Regions from separate parts of the Homo sapiens genome. Here region 1 is linked to region 2. The links are contacts of gene promoters, found by promoter capture Hi-C in blood cells and fetal thymus (Javierre and others, 2016). All regions are on one chromosome and are shown on one strand. Each heading gives the region's core, a stretch centred on a gene start or on the middle of the fragment in contact. The rest is flanking DNA. Distances are from core to core; before and after follow the strand shown. Region 1 has its middle 9.5 kb from the start of DEFA5. Region 2 holds the start of DEFA6 (defensin alpha 6).

The links. The method cuts DNA at HindIII sites, captures the fragments that hold promoters and counts their contacts. A CHiCAGO score of 5 or more calls a contact.
Region 1: a contact is called between a fragment that was not itself captured here and the fragment with the promoter of DEFA6 in region 2, in 1 of 17 cell types (neutrophils). The highest score is 5.4, in neutrophils.

What each region holds. Positions count from the first base shown.
Region 1 is chr8:7,064,435-7,068,012 of GRCh38, reverse strand. No RefSeq gene overlaps it. Among named protein-coding and RNA genes, the nearest start is that of DEFA5, 9.5 kb to the right of the region's middle. The HindIII fragment of the contact is 7,713 bases long and covers 1-3,578 here.
Region 2 is chr8:6,923,639-6,927,384 of GRCh38, reverse strand. DEFA6 (defensin alpha 6) reads left to right here and starts at 1,309. Exons shown (of 2, transcript NM_001926.4): 1 at 1,309-1,542; 2 at 2,458-2,688. The coding sequence starts at 1,350. The coding sequence ends at 2,567. RefSeq lists an enhancer at 2,964-3,464. The HindIII fragment of the contact is 287 bases long and covers 1,162-1,448 here.

The sequences.
Region 1 (3,578 bases), core at 280-2,779, 140 kb before region 2:
TCCTAATATCCAGGGGAAGACAGGAGAGTTTTACTCCCAATATCGCAGAGGCAGTACACCCCCCCCCCACCCCCGTGATATTGTTCCTAATATCCAAGAAGGGAGAGGATGATCCTTCTCCCGATCAAGCAGTGGGTGTACATTACCCCTGTGTTATTGTCTCTAATATCCGGGGGCGGAGAGGATAACATGCCCTCAAATTTGGCAGGTGGTTTGACGCCCCTTGTGGTATTGTTTTTCATATCCACCGGGGAAGACAATACTACTACTCTCAATATCACAAGAAATGTACATCCCCCTGTGATATTGCTACTAATATCCAGGGGTAGAGAGAATGATGTTACTCCTAATATCGTCACAGTGTCCACTCCCCTCTTTGCTATTGTTCTTAATATATGGAAGGCAAGTATGATATGACTCTCAATATGGAAGGAGGAATACACACCCCTGTGATATTGTTCCCAGTATGCAGTGGAGGAGAGAACGCTATTACCCCCAGTATCGCAGGAAGTGTACACCCCTCTGTGATCTTGTTCATAAGGTTCAATTGAAAAGATGATCTTACTGGAAATATGGTAAATACACTGTGTGTCCTCAGTGACTGCTAACATGCAGGGAGGGATGGGGGTTGATATTACTCTGCGCATCAGCGGAGGGTGTCCACGCCCCTGTGATGTGGCTCCTAATATCCATGGGGAAGGGGGATAGATATTACTCCCCGCATCACTGGGGGTGTCCACCCCCCTGCGATGTGGCTCGTAATATCAGGGGTGGGGGGTGATTTTTCTCCCCGCATCGTAGGGGTCGCCCGCCCCCCTGCGATGTGTATCGTAATACCGAGGGAAGGAGAGGGGGATGACATTACTCCCCACATCGTGGCGGAGTCTATCACAGATCGGGATACTATCCACAACCTGGGATATGGGGAGTACACCGCCTGTGATATTGGGAGTAACATCATACTCTTCCCCCCTGAATATTAGGAACAATATCATGGACGGGGTGTTCACCCCCTGCCTTATTGTGAGTCATGTCATTTTCTCTACCCCTGGACATTAGGAACAATGTCACAGGGGTGGTGTACAACCCCTGCGAAATTGGGAGGTATATCTTCCTCTCCACCTTTGGATATTAGGGACAATATCACAGGGGAGGTCTACACCTTCCGGATTATTGGGATTAATAACGTCCTCTCCCCGCCTGGGTATTAGCAACAAGATCACAGATATTATGTGGAATGGGGCAAAATTACTTATCGCAATTAATAATATCAATTTTAATATCAATATTACTTATAGCAATTAATACTATCAATTTTAATATGAATATTACTTATCGCAATTAATATCATTATCGCAATTAATATCATTATCGCAATTAATAATTAATAATCACTAATATCCATTTTAATATCGATATTACTTGTCACAATTAATAATATCAATTTCAATATCAATATTACTTATCGCAATTAATATTATTATCGCAATTAATAATTAATAATAAATAATATCCATTTCAACATCAATATTACTTATCGCAATTAATAATTGATAATCAATAATATCGATTTTAATATCAATATTACTTATCGCAATTAATAACATCCATTATTAATTGATACTAATAATTATCGACATTAATAACTGAAAATATAATTTTTAACATCAATACCAATAATAATGATAATTAATATTAAATAGTTATACGAATGATAACAATAAATGATTAATATTAATGATTAATAATGCCTGATATTAATAACTGATATTGATCTTATACATTAGAAAACAGTAATATTAGCTCCTAATAATTAATATTAATATTTTGAACACTTTTTATCAGCAATTTGTTATTAATATTAATATTGGTAATTCATATTCATGTGACTAATAAATGAGGAATAATGAATATGAATATTACGCCTAATACCTCAGTGGGTGTACACCTACCTGTGATATTGCTCCTAATGTCCAGGGAGGGAGAGAGCATGATATTATGTTCAATATTGCAGTAGGTGTACACCCACCCAGTGATATTGATCCGAATATAATCTCCAGGGGGTGGAGTATGACGTCACTCCCAATAGAGCAGTGGGTGTACATCCACCCGGTGAAATTGCTCCTAATATTCACGGAAGAAGACAATGCTATGACTCCCAGTATCGCAGAAAGTGTACACCCCTTCTGTGATATTGTTCCTAATATCCGGAGGGGTAGAGGGTGATATTACTCGCAATATCGCAGGCTGTGTACACCCACCCTCTGATATGGTTCCTAGTAGCCAGGAAGGGAGAGGAAGATATGACTTCCCATACAGCAGGAGGTGTACACCCATTCTGGGATATTATTCCTAATATCCATGGAGAGGAGAGGCTGATTTTACTCCCAATATCGCAGGGGGTGTACATCCAGTCTGTGACACTGTTCTTAATATTCAAAGGCGGAGAAGTTGATATTACTCCCAATATCACAGAAAGTGTACAAACCCGTGTGATATTGTTCCTACTATCCAGAAGAAGAGAAGATATTTCCCCCCCATATCGCAGAAGGTGTACACCCACCCTGTGATATTTTTTCTCATGTGCAGGGTGGGAGAGGATAATATTCGTCTTCATAGCGCAGGGTGTGTACAGCCCCCCTGTGATATGGTCCTTCATATTCCAAGGCGGAGAGGATGATCTTACTGCCGATACCGCAGAAAGTGTACACCACCCCAGTGACATTGCTCCCCTGATCCAGGAGAGAAGAGGATGATGCTACTATCAATATCGCATGGGGTGGACACACCCCCAGTGATATAGTTCATAATTTCAACGTGGGAGAGGACGATACTACACCCAATGCCGCTGGGGGTAGAAAGACTCCTGTGATACTGTTCTTAATATCCAGGGGGAAGAGGATGCTATTACTACAAATAGTGAAGAGGATGTACACCGGTCTGTGATCTAGTTGGTCATTTCCAGAGGGAGAGAAGATATTATTGACAATAATGTCAACACGCTGTGTGACCACCGTGGCTCGTAATATGCAAGGGGGGAGAGGGGGGCGATATTACTCCCCGCATCGCGGGGGGCGCCCTCACCCCCCTGTGATGTGGCTGGTAATAGCCCGGGGGGGAGAGGGGGAGATATTACTCCCCGCATCGCGGGAGGCGCCCTCTGAGCAGCTTCAGCCTCAGAGACTAAACCAGATATATTAGAGTTTGGAGTCTGCACTTCAGGGTGTGTGTGCATGCGTGCACCTGTGCATATGTTTGTATGTTTATATTGTGCAGGTATGTGCACGCCTGTGTGGTGAGTGGAGTGTGTTGTGAGGTGGAAACTGGGGATGTATGTGTTATAGACGTGCATGTGCATGTCTCTGAGTCTCAGTGCCTGTGTGCAGGGAGTGGGGACTGTGTGATATAAATGACAGAAAACATGAAAGGAAGCACCAGATCTTGAATGGCCGACAGATGGCCAGTTATGATCTCTTTATTCTGCTCTATTAGAACCTGCTCTATTAGAACACAGTCCTCCTCTGGGCTGCTCTGATCTGATTTCCCGTACCCCCAAACCGAGCACTGTGCCCAATATG
Region 2 (3,746 bases), core at 60-2,559:
AAAATTTGTATGAAATGGTGAAAGAACCCAAATAGACAAAACAATTCTGAGAAAAAAAAACAAAGTTGAAGACATCACAATTCCTGGTTTTAAATTATATTACAAAGCTACGGTAATCAAAACAATATGGTATTGGCATAAAACCAGACACATACCAGTGAAATAAAATTGAGAGTCCAGAAACACATCGAAACACATATGGTCAAGTAACTTTTGACAATGGCATGAAGAAGACACAATAGGGACAGGAGAGTCTCTTCAATAAATGGTGGTGGGAATACTATTTCCATATGCAAAACAATAAAACTGGACCCTTCTCTTTTGGCATATACAAAACTTAACTCAAAATGGATAAAATACCTGAATAGAAGACCAGAAACAAGAGACTATGAAAATAATGGTAGAGTTCTATATGTTTTGAGCTACAAAGTATTCAAATTACAGCATTAGGGAGAAAAAACAAAGCACAAACCAATGTTTAATTTTTAAGTGGAGATTTCCTGGAGCAGAGCTGCAGGGCTGGGGCAAGGATGGAGGCTCATTACTCCTTTTACCCTTTGAATGGTCCTTGTGGGCAATTCAACATTTTCTAAAATTAAAAATAAAATAAAATTTCAGAGGGGGATTGTGGGCATGTCAATTGTTTCGATGTTTCTCAAAGTGGAGAGAAATACCTAGTACATATTTTAGTTGATACATTCAGATCACATGGGTTTCTTGAAATAAATCTTTTGGCTTTAGTTTTACTAACTCTTTACCTAGTATCCCACTGAGTTCTTTTCCCTTATAGGCTGATAAGGTCATTATCTTCTCCACACTGTGCCCCACAAGAGCCTATTCACCCCATAATCTCAAAGCCTCCTTCATGAGGGCAGAAATGCCCCCTGAATCCTGCAATGAATTAACTCTCTACTCTAGCGGGATCCAGCTCTGGCCTCAAGGTCTAGACCTCCAGAGAGTGGCCAGCCCCACCTTCAGAAAATAAGAGGCATTTGATTCCTGAAATTATTCATTGAAAGCACTGTTCTTTTCTTTTTTGAATATTAACAAGTAAATATTCCAGCAGATGGAAAACAGGACAATGTAACACTGTTCTTATCATCACTATCAGCTGGGACCAGAACAGACACTCAATAAACAGCCTCACACTACAATGAAGCTTGGAGAACAAAGGAGCATCAAAGGGACATGGAGGGCAAGGGTAGCTCTTCTGCTCCCCAATCACATGCACTCCCCGTCTCACCGCAACATCTGTCCCTGAGCCTTCTCCCAGCAGACCTATAAATCCAGGCTGGCTCCTCACTCCCCACACATCTGCTCCTGCTCTCTCTCCTCCAGCGACCCTAGCCATGAGAACCCTCACCATCCTCACTGCTGTTCTCCTCGTGGCCCTCCAGGCCAAGGCTGAGCCACTCCAAGCTGAGGATGATCCACTGCAGGCAAAAGCTTATGAGGCTGATGCCCAGGAGCAGCGTGGGGCAAATGACCAGGACTTTGCCGTCTCCTTTGCAGAGGATGCAAGCTCAAGTCTTAGAGCTTTGGGTAAGAGACACCAGCATTGCAGAGCTAGGAGTGTAGAGAGGAAAACCAAGCACTTCTAGAATTAGATCCAACAGCTGGCTCTTTCTCTTAGGTGATCACCTCCCCAGGCCTCAATTACTTTATGTTTGTACTGAAAAGGAAGAATCAGTGATATTCAAGGCATGACTTTTCTCTAAAGATTTTTTAATTCTATGATAAGTCTATGAAATTTTCTAATTTTTTGCCATGTAGAAATGTATTGAGGAGTCTCTACTTCAAGGAAGAGAGCCTAATTTTAAAGGAATGTTTTGTTTTGCTTTGTTTTGTTTTGTTTTGTTTGATGGAGTCTCGCTCTGTCACCCAGGCTGGAGTGCAGTGGCACTATCTCAGATCACTGCAACCTCTGCCTCCTGGGTTCACGCAATTCTCTCCCTCAGCCTCCCAAGTCACTAGGATTACAGGCACCAGACACCAAGCCTGGCTAAATTTTGTATTTTTTTTTTTTTCAGTAGAGACGGGGTTTCACCATCTTGGCCAGGCTAGTCTTGAACTCCTGACCTTGTGATAAACCCACCTTGGCCTCCCAAAGTGCTGGGATTACAGGCGTAAGCCACCACATCCAGCTGCTAAAGGAATGTTTTTTAATCTGACTTTTATAGGAACCGTTGCAAACTGGAGACAGTCATATGGGTGCATTCAGATGTGTGTGTGACAGGGAAGGAGCAGATAAGTACAGCATATCAGAATGGCTCTCTAATCCTGTGTGTGACCAACACTGCTCTGCGTATTTATTCCTATTGATGGTGTGATCATGCTATTGGCTGTAATGCAGCCAGCATTACATGTCAGCAAGCATGCAACTTCCTGAAGATTCTCTTTACTGCCCGCTGCTGACCCTGGTGCTCAATTTCTGATGCTCTCTCTCTCTGTCCCCAGGCTCAACAAGGGCTTTCACTTGCCATTGCAGAAGGTCCTGTTATTCAACAGAATATTCCTATGGGACCTGCACTGTCATGGGTATTAACCACAGATTCTGCTGCCTCTGAGGGATGAGAACAGAGAGAAATATATTCATAATTTACTTTATGACCTAGAAGGAAACTGTCGTGTGTCCTATACATTGCCATCAACTTTGTTTCCTCATCTCAAATAAAGTCCTTTCAGCAAGTTCTTTTGTGTTTGTGCTTTTCTGGTGTTTGATAATTCAGGATTCTTCAGATGCAAAAACAAAAACCCAAGTCGTATCTCAGAACACTAGCTCTTCGAAAGAGTTTTCTATGTAGACCAGAGAAGTGGTAGAGAGGATGTTGAGAGAAGAGAGGATTTGGGTTTTTTGTTTTTTTGTTTTTTGCTTTCTGAGATGGAGTCTCGCTCTGTTGCCCAGGCTGCAGTGCAGTGGCACAATCTTGGCTCACTGAAACCTCTACCTCCTGGGTTCAAGTGATTCTCCTGCCTCAGCCTCCCAAGTAGCTGGGATTACAGGTATCCACCACCACGCCAAGTAATTTTTGTATTTTTAGTAGAGACAGGGTTTCACTATGTTGACCAGGCTGGTCTCGAACTCCTGACCTCAAGTGATCCGCCCACCTCGGCCTCCCAAAGTGCTGGGATTACAGGCATGAGCCACCGCACGTGGCCTTAGGCACTCTGTTTTAATGTTAATGCTGGCCAGCTGTGCCTGAATTCCAATGGGAGGAGGATATCATGAGGTATTCCTGATCCCCACGTCCCATCATGGCCTGAACCAGTGTTTGAGGTTAACACTAGAATGCCTTGGGCTGAGAGGAGGCGTCCATTCAGTTGGCTGGAGGGCTTAGAATTTTAATCTTGGTTTGAATGGGATACAAACATAGGAGGAAGGAACGTGGGGTCCTGGCCCTTCCGACTCTGGCCAGAACCTTGCCAACCACATGTCCACAAGAACACAGGCCCTCTCTCTTTGCCTTGTCCCTTGTCACTATGTCCAGAGACAAGAGGGTGACAACAGTCCTGGGTATAACAACAACCCTGACATTCATCCAGAGGTCTGGCCAGACTCCCAGTTCTTCTGCCCTTCTGCTGGGTCTTCTTACCTCTTTGTAGGAGAGACCATGTTAAAGTGGCCTATTTTCCAGTTCTCTAAAACACAGACAGAAGACGTGGAGGGAAAGGTTCTCCAAGGCAGGTCTGAACGAGGAGAAACATGGAGTCACAAAACCCATTTCCAAGCCTGACTTTGCCACTTT